Linked DNA regions of Homo sapiens: all the other regions are linked to region 2. The links are contacts of gene promoters, found by promoter capture Hi-C in blood cells and fetal thymus (Javierre and others, 2016). All regions are on one chromosome and are shown on one strand. Each heading gives the region's core, a stretch centred on a gene start or on the middle of the fragment in contact. The rest is flanking DNA. Distances are from core to core; before and after follow the strand shown.

Region 1 (2,700 bases), core at 187-2,686, 150 kb after region 2:
TTAGTCTTTCTCTGTTTTGCTCGTCACTGTTTTCCAGCACCCAGCACAGTACCTGGCACTTAATAGATGGTCAATGAATATTTGTCCAATGAATGAGAATCCTCAAAGAGAATTCATGTTTCTGGTCTCAACCTCCTGGCTTCAAGTGATTCTCCTGCCTTAGGCTCCTAAAATGCTGGGACTACAGGTGTGAGCCACTGCACCCGGCCCGATTCATGTTTCTGTACCATTGCTCTAGTTCATTGATCTCTAAGTGGTGTTTTGTATATCACTAGCTAATGTGCATGGTGATTAACTGCTAATAAATGTCAAAGCTGGGACTTGAACCCAGGTCTTCTGCATGACAAGCAAGCAACTTAAGAGTTTAACTGGAAGGCTTGCTGCTTAAATGGCTCCCTCTTGATTCAAGAGTGAAAGGGGTATGGTGATTAGAGGCTTGCCCTAGGAGTACTCCTGCTCCAAAGTCAATGATCTAGAACTGTAGGTTTAGAGATGTGGATAAGTAAATGATTCATTGGGAAATGGCTCTGAGCCTTCTGAGAACCTTAAGAAACATATTCTTTTTTACTCCTGGCTGGTCATGCATAAGACTTAGAAACGAATGATAACAGAATATATTTTCTGTCCCTCTTTGACATCACCTGAGTTTCAGTAAAATGTAATCTTCTATGGGTGGAAGAGAGTTTATAGAGCCGGCCAAGTCTGATCGCCACCTGTGTCTTCCACCAACCCAGATGTATGTCCCTACCTGCTTATTAACTTTTGATGAGAAACGTTCCGGGAAGAACCTGCATCCATATGTCCCCTTGATTTATGTCTTCCTCTGCATTCTCACTGCTACCATCATGAGACCCTTGCCACCTCAAGCACTGGTCCTGTTTGGAGTATTCATAATATTCGGGGTAGAGCATCAGTTCTCCCTGAGCTGATTTATTTCTCATCTCAATATTATTAGTCTTCCTTATTCAGAGAAGCTCAAGGGACTACAGTAGTTCCCTGTTACCTGCAACATCAACATGAGGCTTTTCTCCAGGGTCTTCAAGTAACGTCTTAATCTTTTTCCATTTGTCTTCATCTCCTATTACTCCTTAGTATATGCCATTAGAATGCTTTTTATCCCATTATCTATCAACCAGTTATATAACTCACATGTTCAAATACTTACTGAGCCCTACTATATGCTAGGCACTGTATTGCACACTAGGGTACAGCAGGAGCAAGATAGTCACAGCACCTTCCCTCATGGACCTATGATCCATAAGGAGAGACAAACATTTAAACAACTCCATTCACCGTTGCTTGTTTCGTTAAAATGGTAGTAAGGGCTACAAAGAATGGAGGGGTGCTCAAAGTGTGTTACAGGGGAACCTTACTTTGTAAGGAGAATCAGGGAAGTCTTCTTTGGGAGGAAATGGTGAAGTTGAATCAGAGATAATTCCTTATATTCATTCCCATTTTCTATCTAGTCCTGTGCTTTTTGAATCCCTAGGAAAAGCAGCCTTTCTTTCCTCTTTCTACACAAAAGCTACTCATTCCTTAGTTGTAACTTATTTCAGTGAGTTGACGGAAAAATATGACAGTTAAAAGCTCAGATGCTTAAATCAGAGAATTGAAGTCGAAACCCAGCTCCACCATCTCTTGGCCTGGTGTCTTTATGCAAGTTATTTACATTGCTAAGCCATAATTTGCTCAAATGCCAGGTGAGGATTGTAATACATTCCTCTCAGAATCATTCTGGGTGTGAAGTACTTAGCACCGTGCTGACACTTAGTAAATGCTCAATTAATAATGGCCAAAATTACCATAATGATCAACTCCTGGGTTGACGTCCAGGACCTGCTTCCTTCTGTTTTTTCAAAAAAACTCAGTCTGTACACACTAGCCAGATACTCTGCCAGATGTTGGAGACACATCAATAAATAAGGTGGCCCTGCCCTCAACCCTGGAAAATCCTTTTGGATCTCAGCTTCATCTTCATGGTGAGGGCCAAACCTACTCTTAGGCTCAAATGACATGAACCCAGGCCCTAAAGTGACATGGTATGGCACCTATTCCCACACCTACTTTGGAGACTTGGTTCTGAAACTTTTCTCTGCCTGGTGCCCTGTGCCTGAACCCCTGCCTGGATTACCTGCCTCTACCTGAATTTCCCACAGGGCTGGTGGTAGCCTTTTGCTTACTGGTTCCTCTATCTTGTATCACACTCAACACACAGCTCTGCTTGCGGTAACTCCTAGGCAAAGGCTGGTTCACTGATCATGCTGAGAGCTCCAAGATTAACTTTGCTTCTTTGTCAGTCTTATCTTCTGGTACATGGGATTTTTACCAAGCAGCTCAAGTTGACTTTGTAGCTTTCACTCCCCAGGTTGGGCAGCACTGAGTGGATGCTAGGAGTGCTGACTACTTGGCTGGGCAAAACAAAACCTGCTGTCTCCAGCTCAGGCCCACTAATCAAGAGGTCCGTGGGCCTCTTGATTGTCCACTGATGAGAACTAGCTTTGAGAATATGGGATTGAATCTTCCTTTGTGGGAACAACTCCTGTATAGCCTGACTTGGATATCCATAGAGTTGGGGGTGAAGTATTCTGTATGAGAACCTTCTAGGGGTAGGGCAGAAATCTTTAACTCTTACTTAACAGAATAACCCTTTCTTTTTTAATGAACTCTGTATACAACAGATAAAGGGATGCTTCTTGGAGG
Region 2 (2,700 bases), core at 6-2,505:
ATTTCAATGCTTCTTAAAGAGGTGATTTTTCACTTTTCACTTCTACTAACATAAGAAAGACAAGTCTTCAGGCAGAAAATTTTAACCTGAGAGACAGTGGATGGGATAACTCAGCTGTTGAGTCAAATATAAGCATAAATTTAAAAACAAAGCAAATGAAGATTGCTCATGAGTTCAGGATCTGCAGCTAACAGAGTTTGGAAAGGTGGGTTGGGGAAAGAGGCAGTCAAAGTTTCAAAAGGGAAATGTTTCCCAGTATGTTCCTAAATAGATCCACTCTGCACCCAAGTTCAGGGCTTTACACACTGAGGTTATAATACTATTGTTTCCAAGCACTCAGCCTTAGTAATCCCCCTCCCTCTTCGCAGAAAAAGAAAACAACAGCAAAAAAGGACAGAAAATGAAATGATCTGTGTCCAGCGAGTTTGAGTGCAACCTTCCCCGTCACCGCTAGTTGTCACTTGGCTCCCAGACGGGAAAGCTGAGGTTTTCGGCACTGCGGTTAGGGAGAATGCAGTCCTAATTAAACTGAGTAACTCCTAAAGCTTCCCTTTAAAGTCCTCAGCCGAGTGAAAGCCAACATGCAGTGGGGCTGGGGACCAATAGTGGGGGGTGTAGCAGACAGAAGGACAAACAAACCGTAAGAAACAGGCAAACAGCTGCCAGAACAGCGACTGTCTCAGACCTCCACGCACAAGCCAGACACCCTGCGGGCGGGGGTGGGGTGGGTGGCGGGGGGTGGGAGGGGGGAGAAGGGAGACGGGGGATGGAAGGACCCGATTGCAGTGGAATACAGCACCCCTCTTCCCCAAAATGATGGGACCACGGACAGAGGTAGCCTCCGTACTCTTTCCCCCCATTTCCATCAGAGCGATGTGGTCAGTAGAAAATTGCATACCTGAAGAATACAATGGTCTCCCAAAGGTAGAGTCGAAGAGTATTGAAGCTGTACATTTTTCAGGTCCTTGTGCTTTGTAGTCCACGAGTTATGGGGGCAAAAATGTTTCAAATTGGCACTTACAAAACCAGAAAGCGCTATTGCAAAAAATAATCCAGATGTTAAAGGGAGGCGGGGAACAGGGGCGCGGAGGGAGAGCCCCAGGGGAAATTGGAGCGAGGGGGTCGTAGATACCACGGACAGCGGCGGCTGCGAGGCGTTTCAGCACCACGGAGAGCGTCCAGACCTGCTTTTCAGGAGCGCGAAGAGTATTGCTGTTTGTTAAACTCCAGCGTGTCTGTTGGCTCCCTGCGGCGCTGGGGAGGCACGTTTGGGGGTGGGTATATTTCCTTTTTTTTTTTTTTTTTTTTAAACCCCTGTTTTTCTGTTTAAACGGCCAGCTCCCTGCAAGGAAAAAAATCTTCTGTGGAGATCAGAGCGCTGGCCTCGGACCGTTGGATTGGGCGAGCATCTTGGGTAAAGAGAACAGAGCTTTATGGCTCTGGGCCGGCCTGAGGGGGTTAGGGGCGAGGGGAAAGCGGTTGACGGCGCTGCCTTCAGTTAAATCTCGGAGAGTGTGCCAGGCTGGCGCATCGCAATCCAGTCTCGGAATCTCGTTCTCCTGCCTCTGTGCGGGTCTGCTGTCGCCTTGCTATTCCTGTTTCCCGGTCCCCGCCGAATAAGTTGTGATCACTGCAGAAAAGGTGTCCCATTGCTCGGGGCCGCAGGCGTCAGAGAGCCCAGGGCAAGTTTCAGGGGCTACCGGGGTCCCTGGCTACCCCGCGGGGCTCTGAAGCCCAATGTCTCAGATGCATCTCGGTTTTCTGAGCTCGCTCATCTTCCCTTGGTCAAGACTCCTTCAGATCTTCAGACTTTCTTACTGCATTAATTTAACAAACTGGAGGCGTGGGGGATGGGAGGGGTGATAGCCGATGGGAGGGGGTTGAGGGGGAAAAAAAAAGGGGGAAAACTCCTTAGTATCTTCAAACCCTCCCACTCGAGGTGTTCATTGGCCCGCGGCTACGAAAACCAGATCTTCTCCCGGTATTCGGCCAATAGCCTGTTAGACTCCGGGTTGAATTTAACGCTTAGAGTGCTGGACGAGATCTGCGCAATCCCCTTCCTACCCCCAAGCTTCTTTCCGTGTAAGCGGTGGGGTGAGAGAGGATATGGAATTAATCTCTCTAGGTCTCTCAAAAGGTTGCCTTGATTTTTAAAGAATGCAGTTGTATGTGAGTAAAACACATGGTTCCTTGTTAAGACGTGCTCTGGGCTCAATTTATCCTTTTAAAAGGGAAGAGTTGAACCAGATCCCTGATTTTTTTTAAAAGAGCTCTGAAGTTATAATATTTGGCCCTAGAAAGAAAGGAGGAATATCCAAAAAGAAGTCTGGTGGATAAAGACCCCCTCCAGGGTCACCGCAGCAGGGAAATACGAGAGAAATTCTTTGAGCAGTTTCCAGCGTTGAGTGGGAGGTGTTGTGGCTGGCACCCTTTTGAGAGGGAATAAAAGCACCTTCTTCCAACTGGACAGGAGACAGTTTTATTCGCCTTTTATATGCTGGGGAAACTGAGCCTCACAGAGCTGTGGCTTGCTCCAAATTGATGGCAGAGCCAAGTTGTACACACAGGGATGTGTTATGACTCACATTTCGTTATTTCTTCCTCTGTTTTCCCACCTTATTTGAATCTTAGAAACCAGCTATACATTTCACTGTAAAGCCCATCTGGTGAGATGGAGTTAATCAGATTTTCCCCAAGCTG
Region 3 (2,700 bases), core at 80-2,579, 180 kb after region 2:
TGGTCCTCTCTCCCTGAAGTATTTGCATTTTATGACTTACAAGAAAGAATGAAAAAATAAGTGAATGAGTGATTTGGAGTGTCCTTTTAGTGTTCCTGAAATAATTAATCAGGATAGCTAACATTTGCTGAGCACTTACATTGTGCCAGGAACAATTTAACTTACACATCTACTCTATGCAGTAATCTTTCCCTTTTGCCAATGAGGAAACTGAGGCACAGTGGTTAAGTGACTAGCTCAAAGTCATGTACTGTATTTTACCAAGTCTAAATATCTTGCTAAATAACTAATGGTGCATTAATTATAAGATGTACCATTACTTTGTTTACACTAAAAAATGCTGCTAATAAAACTAAAACATGTAACTGATTTTAAGAAATGATAAATGTGAAAAAATATGCACCTTAGAATCAGTGACTGTACATGACAGAGCTGGGATTTGAACCCAAGTAGATCAACAGCAGTACTTACAGCTTTCTACCATGCTCTGTTTATGCCAAAAGATAGTCTTGACTACCATTTTATTAAGTCAGCATTTTTTTCAAGTGTTTTGAAAGGGAGTAGTGGGTATCAAGGAGGAAAGTGTTCTGTGAACAAGTAAGTTTAGGAAAGGCTTCATCAGACAGAATATAATTTTTCTACCACAGGACTTCTCCGAGCTGTTAATTTTTTTTTTTATTTTTTATTTTATTTTTGTTTTTGAGATGGAGTCTCGTTCTGTTGCCTAGGCTGGAGTGCAGTGGCACGATCTCAGCTCACTGCAAGCTCTGCCTCCCGGGTTCATGCCATTCTCCTGCCTCAGCCTCCTGAGTAGCTGGGACTACAGGCGACTGCCACCATGCCCGGCTAATTTTTTGTATTTTTAGTAGAGACAGGGTTTCACCGTGTTAGCCAGGATGGTCTGGATCTCCTGACCTTGTGATCCACCTGCCTCAGCCTCCCAAAGTGCTGGGATTACAGGTGTGAGCCACCGCGCCTGGCCTAGAGCTGTTAATATTAACATGTATTTTTGTACCTTCTGCATCATTTCTCAAAGTTTTTTTTTTTTTTTTTGTGGTGGAGTATTTTATGGAACTTCAGTTTCTTGGAACACATTTGGAGTACACAGTAATTAGTAATTTCTCTAATCTGGTAACAAATGTGTCCAGAAGGTCGAGTTTCATTTTGCCTAACTAGTCTGTGGGGGTAATTATTGCATATTAGGCATGATGGGTCTGTAAAGATGGAATTGAAATTAACCCTACATCTTCAGGAAATTTTTCTCCTGGTCCACATATTTTATTCAGTATTAATTTTTTAAAAAGGTATTTAATACCAAGAACAGTATTTTTCAAAGCATGCTTTTTGGCAATGGATTTCAAACTTTTTCGGTCAGGTATCCCTACCAGTAGAAAAAAAAATAAGCGAATGTTATGGTTCCTTTAAGGACAAAATGTACCAATGATTATAAAGATGACTTGCATACTGGGAGGCACTCATTGCCATTGTTTGATTATTTAAAAAAATTGTTTTGCAGAAACTTTTTGTAAAGGTTATAATTGCTTTTATCTACAGGTAACAGAGTACCTGCCTAATGATGCTTAAGCAATAAAGGTTGTTCAAGTTCCTAAAATAGGAAGAAGTTTGGAGATAGGTTGTCCAGGGCTAACGCAGGGCCTCAACTATGTCCTGAATGACTCAGATGTTTCTTTTATGCCACCACCCCTCCCTAAAATGTTGTCTTGTTGTCTCAGGGACACAATGTCTGCTGCAGTCCCAGGCATCACATCTCTGGACAAAGCAGGACAAAGAGGTTATAGTGGCATCAACTATACCTACCTTTTTTTTTTTTTTTAATCGAGAAAGGAAAATGTTCCTGAAGTCCCCAGTAGCCTTCTCTTTATGTGCTGAAAGTGCTGAGAGACATAGCCACACCTGGTTGCAAGCAAGCTGGAGCCAGGACTGTCATGATCAGTGTGTGCCAGTGGCTCTCCCAGTGAGGCCTCCAGGCCAGCATCATCACCATCACCTAGGAACTTGTTACACATGCAAATTCTCACTCCCCGCCATCCCCCAGACCTACTGAATCAGAAACCCTGGAAGTGGGCCCAGCAGTTTGTATTTTAACAAGCTCTCTGGGTGATTCAGATACACTAGATTTTGAGAAAAACTGTCTCAGACCAATGATTTGTTGTTCCAGACTGGGGTCATTGTTGCCCTGAGCAGACCTGAGATTCCATTTGTAACACAAAAGTTAGGGATGGATATCGGGCAGGTGTCTAAGTGTCCAACACAGAGACATTAATGTTTGACTGTTTTATATGTTATAAACAGGGATTATTTTTATTAATGTAAAAAGCCGCAGCAAAAACCAGCATTCTTAGCCTTGAGAACCAGCACTTTCTATCTTGTTTGCTGTGTAACCTTGAGCAAATCACTGAACCTTTCTGAGTTTGCTTCCTGCTCTTTTAAGAAGAGAAATCTTTGCAGGGTTTCTATAGGAACCATCTAATACAATGCACATAGAAGGACTCCAAAAACCCTCACACTTTGTGTGGTGTCTGCTCCCATGCGTGGGTGGATCACTGTCCCCCTGCATCTTAAGCCTTTGGCACTATTCCTCCTGCCTGGCTCAGGCAATCTCTGTGCATTGCTAATAGGGTTCCTGCAAGCACAGCACACCAGACTCCACCAGCAACGTCTAGGTCTCCCACTTGCTCA
Region 4 (2,700 bases), core at 21-2,520, 200 kb after region 2:
TGTGTGAGGGCTCTAGGGGTAAAGTAGGGGAGAATGCACCCGTTTTTCTTTAGTTCCCCACTGGAATGTGCACAGCTTTGCCTTCCAGTGGCTTATAGAATTCTCAGTGAGAATTCTTTCCGTGTTGGTTTACTTTCAAGACATAAACCCACCAGAAGCTGGGATGAGGAAAAACTGGAGTGTAAGAAATGCCCTGGATTCAGAATTACTCTGCCTTCCAATAATAAAGGATTTGGTTAAGGGATAATATAGAATTGGAAAGTTTGCTGTATAGAATTTTCTTAGGGGATACAGGAATGTTTACATTGCATTCTGATCCATATTCTTTATGCCTTGTGTCTCCTAAGGGACTTACAGTTACGAGAGACTGTGCTAAATAGAAAACAGGCATCATTTTACTCCAGTGCAGAACACTAGCAAACTGAGAGTACACAGCATGAGCCTGAGATCTAAAGGGAATTTTTCTCCCTCCTGTTCCGAACCTGCATCTTGAGATCTGACTGCCTGCGTGGGTCAGGAGAGTGAAGCGATACACCTCACTTTGAGCATCTAGCCTAGTACCTGGCATGTAGGAGATAGATAATTTGGTACATGTTGGTTCATCGAGTGAGGAACTAAATAAAGGAAAGAAGAGTGGGCAAGACAGAGAGAGCTAGGCTCAAAAGACAGGCCACATCTGTCACATTGGCAGATAAGTGAGAACCTCTGGTTCTTTTCTCCCAGACAGTCATTATTCCAAACGTTCCATTATAATTGATTTTGTTTTAGCATATACACACATAGCGTGTTTCTTCATTCGCTGATGGTAATAGTGAGAATGTATATTCTTTGCTTCTCCTGGAAATGTGTATAAGTAAGCCTAAGATTAAGAGCTGTGCTAATGATTTTAGTAAATGGCGTCACCTACCCACAAATCCTGTAAGCTTGTCTTGTATAACTGATGCTTCTGTGCCTTTTAAGCTTAGGGATAAAATGGGTAGAAGACACAGGAAGACAAAATTCCATTCAAAGAATGAAGTAAATTTTTTTTTTTTTTGAGATGGAGTCTCACTGTGTCGCCCAGGCTGGAGTGCAGTGGCTCGATCTCGGCTCACTGCAAGCTCTGCTTCCCAGGTTCATGCCATTCTCCTGCCTCAGCCTCCCGAGTAGCTGAGGCTACAGGGGCCCGCCACCATGCCTGGCTAACTTTTTTTGTATTTTTAACAGAGATGGGGTTTCACCATGTTAGCCAGGATGGTCTTGATCTCCTGACCTTATGATCCACCTGCCTCAGCCTCCCAAAGTGCTGGGATTATAGGCGTGAGCCACTGCGTCCGGCCTAAACATAAAGTAAATTTTGAGTTAAGGTAGGTGATCTTTGGGGGTAGTGTTACTCCTTACTGGAAGTATTCAATCAGAGACTGCATGACTACTTGTTTAGAAGGTTATATGAGAGATTCAAACACCAGAAGGGCAATAAATTGGCTCTAAAATCCTCTCTAAGTGTAGGAGTCCATATTTGTTTGGAAATTTTTTTAACACTAGTTTTACTATAAGTTCATAAGGAGACATCACCCAACCCAAGGATTAGACTTCCTTTGTAAGCTTGACACAGAGATGAGTAGGATGAATAAACTGTTCATGGCTAGGAGGCCATCTAATATCATCACTCATACTGTCAAAAATGGGGCTAAAGGATTTTAGAACATTGGGTCCAGCTTACAATCCCAGTCCAAGTGTACTTTTTCATGTCAACTGTCCAATCTGGAGATCCTCTTTCTCTCTTAACGACCTCTTCACTGATGACCTTATCAGTAAGATTGACTTTCTTCACACTACACTGTAAGGATCACAATAAGAGAGACTATGTCTGTGATGTATATGGGTGCATCCTGAGCACCTAGCATAGTGTCTGTCATGTAGTAGATAGATAATGAGTTCGTACTGGTTGATTTAATACCAAACCTTTCCATTTAAGTCACAGTGTACTGAATACCATAAATTCAAAGACAGAAGTCTATGGGCCAGTCCAGAGATAGAAAAAATACTTCTGACTGCATCTTAGTCCTTGATCTAGAGTGTCAACAGCATCTTAAGACTGCTTAAGGACCCAGTTAAAGAGAAGTGTAGGCCTATTCCTGAATAGCGGCTGAATCTGCTTAAGTCAAGGGTCCTATTTTATATATCAGTGCATTTGGGTGGGTGTGGCTGGCTGGCGAAGAGCTAATATTTTCAAGTGATGTTCACTGGAGAATATTAATGGGAGAGAAACTAGTTACTGTGAAGTTGTTATCTAAGGAGGGTAGAGGACTGTGTAGATGAGGCTAAGTTAGAGCGTTCAGTCTTCATTACGAATCTCTTAGGAACAACTTCTTTCATAGCTAAGCATGATTGCCATAAACTGGGATAGTTCTTTTGCAAATGTGTGCCTTTGATTTCAAAGAGATGGGCTCAGAGAGTAGCAGTGATTGCATGTACTCCATCTATGCGAGTGGAGATAATCTGGAATATAATGCGGTGAGTATTTCTAGGGGTTTGTGATCTTCCTTGGATCCTCCATGCAGCTTGGCCATCCTTCCACGGGTTCCAAGTCACATCCCTTCTCCATTTTTCCTCCCTGGCTCTTACCCAATTTTACCCCTTTCTGAAAATGCCCAGTTTTGTCATTTTTTTTTTCTAACACGGATGAACTTTACTACTTCACTGAAAAGATGGATCATC
Region 5 (2,700 bases), core at 86-2,585, 250 kb after region 2:
CTATTTGTTTGTTTGCTATCTTGTGTGCCATTCATTTTAGGGTCTCTCCTCAGATATCTAGTCATCTTTGGTGCTCTGCTCATAGTTAAAGATGAGAACAAAAACTAATTGGAAGTTTTACGTACATGTGTGTTTCCATTTTAAGGTTATCAGATTGGACTATTTTATTTTATTTATTTATTTTCCTATTTTCTTTTTTTAAATGTTGGCTCCAATCCAGTAAGTTGACTTCACAACCTACTAATGGGTTATGACCTGAAGTTAGAAAACTATGGTATAGAAGATCTAGAGAGAGACCTTCGGTTACAAGTACATATAACGCAAGCTGGATACTTGGATACTGTTGTAGACTCTTCAGCCATCATCTTCCACATCCAACAGCTTTCTACATGTGTAGGCTCTGTCTCTTACATGCCTCTTGATTGACTTTCCTTCTCTGCATGTACTGTCTCTCCCTCCTCCCTGCCACATGGACCAAGCTGCCTGTCCTGGTTTCCTGCCTGCTGCTTAGCCCTCCTGTCCATCCTCCAAAGTGCAGCCAGTGATCGTTCTAAAAAATGCATTTGATGAAAAGTCTGTAATAGTCTTTACTTGTCTACATCCTACACACACACACACAAAAACAAAAACAAAAACAAAAAACCAATAAATGCATCTAATTCCTTAGCCTTGTCTGGCCTTGATTTCTCCTCCAGGGTCATTTCTCACTAATTCTGCATTTGTATCTCATGTTGAATCAATGTTGACTCATGCACAAGTCCTTGAATCTTTCATGCTCTTTCATATCTTGGGCCTTTGCTTTTGAAGATTTTTCTGCCTAGAATTCCCATTTGACCGAATACTGGGCTCATTCCAGGATCAGCTCAATCCTTTATTTTTCTTTTCTTTTTTAAAATTATACTTTAAGTTCTGGGATACATGTGTAGAATGTATAAGTTTGTTACATAGGTATACACATGCCATGGTGGTTTACTGCACCTATCAACCTGTCATCTACATTAGGTATTTCTCCTAATGCTATCCCTTCCCTAGCCCCCCACCCTGCAACAGGCCCAGGTGTGTCATGTTCCCCTCCCTGTGTCCATGTGTTCTCATTGTTCAACTCCCACTTATGAGTGAGAACATGCAGTGTTTGGTTTTCTGTTCCTGTGTTAGTTTGCTGAGAATGATGGTTTCCAGCTTCATCCATGTCCCTGCAAAGGACACGAACTCATCCTTTTTTATGGCTGCATAGGATTTCATGGTGTATATGTGCCATATTTTCTTTATCCAGTCTATCATTGATGGGCATTTGGGTTGGTTCCAAGTTTTTGCTATTGTGAATAGCGCTGTAGTAAACATATGTATGCATGTGTCTTTATAGTAGAATGATTTATAATCCTTTGGGTATATACTCAGTAATGGGATTGGTGAGTCAAATTATTTCTGGTTCTAGATCCTTGAGGAATCACCACACTGTCTTCCACAATGGTTGAACTAATTTACACTCCCACCAACAGAGGAAAAGTGCTCCTATTTCTCCACATCCTCTCCAGCATCTGTTGTTTCCTGACTTTTTAATCGCTCAGATTTATGAGAGAAGTCCTAATGTTGGCTTCTTTGAGTGTTTTGAGCTGGTTAGATTCTTCAGGTAAAATCTTGTCTGAAGGATTTTGCTGTCATTGTTTTGGTAGTCCAATCAGAGAAAACAGGAGCCTCAGTAGTCAGGATATTACTACTCTCTTAGTGTCCTTGTTGCGTGTGTAATACCCTCCTCTTAAACTCTTCCCAATATCTTCCTATTCAGAGATCTTTGTTTTATTCATTCTTTTAGAATAAACTTTCAGTTTTCTGTCAAAGTTGATTAGGGGCAATTTTGCAACCATATAGATTAGAGGAAGACATCTGGAGGCCTAACTTTTCTCTTTCAAAACATTTTATTAAGAAAGGTTTTAAACATATATCAAAGTAGAGAGAAGAGTATAAACCCCAATTAAATACTTGTCAATATTTTGCCAGTTTCTGCTACTACCTAAATTTACTTGCAACCTATCCTGTTGTGTTCAGCTGTAACTTTGCTTCCTTCCAGAGGTCCTGGTACCACCAATCTCTGAGTGTTTTTTCAGTGTAAACTGAGTGGCTTACTTGTTCATTTATTCATTTCTCCACCACCACCTTAGGATTCTGCTTTCTTGAGTCTACTAATGAATTTATCACTTTTCTTTTTGCTTTACAGCTTCCAGGCTATTATTGTTATTATCTTCTCTTTTGGTTTTGTTACCATATCGAAGTTTCAGTTTCTCCACAGATTGTACCTTTTCTGACACTGGAGATTTTTAATCCTGGGCCGATCTACTCTTTGATGGGCTGATCTTTTATATCTCATTTCAGTCTTCACATTCTCCTAGAAACTTTCCTTGACCTCCCCATTATGACTTCACGGTTTGTCCTGTACCCTCTCATTTTATCCCTTTCTTTATCCCACTACATCTCTGATCTCATTGTCTTGTAATTACTTGTCTCCTTCAAGAGACAGTAAGTTCTGGGAGGACAGGTATACATTCCCAGAACAAATTATACATATAGAAAAATATTATTAATTATATACCATGTGCCAGAAATAATTGTTTTTTCATTAACAACTTATGTAATCCTCAGAATAATTCTAGGATGTAGGCAATATCATTATCCTCAATTTATATCTGAGAAAACGGAGGCGCT

What was found. The method cuts DNA at HindIII sites, captures the fragments that hold promoters and counts their contacts. A CHiCAGO score of 5 or more calls a contact.
Region 1: a fragment that was not itself captured here is called in contact with the fragment with the promoter of GLRA1 in region 2 in 1 of 17 cell types (naive CD8 T cells); the score reaches 6.4 in naive CD8 T cells.
Region 3: a contact is called between a fragment that was not itself captured here and the fragment with the promoter of GLRA1 in region 2, in 2 of 17 cell types (total CD4 T cells and naive CD8 T cells). The highest score is 5.6, in total CD4 T cells.
Region 4: a fragment that was not itself captured here is called in contact with the fragment with the promoter of GLRA1 in region 2 in 1 of 17 cell types (naive CD8 T cells); the score reaches 6.2 in naive CD8 T cells.
Region 5: a fragment that was not itself captured here is called in contact with the fragment with the promoter of GLRA1 in region 2 in 2 of 17 cell types (total CD4 T cells and naive CD8 T cells); the score reaches 5.4 in total CD4 T cells.

What each region holds. Positions count from the first base shown.
Region 1 is chr5:152,068,504-152,071,203 of GRCh38, forward strand. The region is part of intron 1 of LINC01933 (long intergenic non-protein coding RNA 1933); the gene reads left to right. Among named protein-coding and RNA genes, the nearest start is that of LINC01933, 110 kb to the left of the region's middle. RefSeq lists a silencer at 2,228-2,468. The HindIII fragment of the contact is 6,897 bases long and covers 1-2,700 here.
Region 2 is chr5:151,923,596-151,926,295 of GRCh38, forward strand. GLRA1 (glycine receptor alpha 1) reads right to left here and starts at 1,256. Exons shown (of 9, transcript NM_000171.4): 1 at 899-1,256. The coding sequence starts at 954. RefSeq lists a silencer at 1,536-1,748. The HindIII fragment of the contact is 1,526 bases long and covers 544-2,069 here.
Region 3 is chr5:152,104,754-152,107,453 of GRCh38, forward strand. All of the region lies in intron 1 of LINC01933 (long intergenic non-protein coding RNA 1933), which reads left to right. Among named protein-coding and RNA genes, the nearest start is that of LINC01933, 150 kb to the left of the region's middle. The HindIII fragment of the contact is 3,521 bases long and covers 1-2,700 here.
Region 4 is chr5:152,126,145-152,128,844 of GRCh38, forward strand. The region is part of intron 1 of LINC01933 (long intergenic non-protein coding RNA 1933); the gene reads left to right. Among named protein-coding and RNA genes, the nearest start is that of LINC01933, 170 kb to the left of the region's middle. The HindIII fragment of the contact is 624 bases long and covers 959-1,582 here.
Region 5 is chr5:152,174,045-152,176,744 of GRCh38, forward strand. All of the region lies in intron 1 of LINC01933 (long intergenic non-protein coding RNA 1933), which reads left to right. Among named protein-coding and RNA genes, the nearest start is that of LINC01933, 220 kb to the left of the region's middle. The HindIII fragment of the contact is 3,862 bases long and covers 1-2,700 here.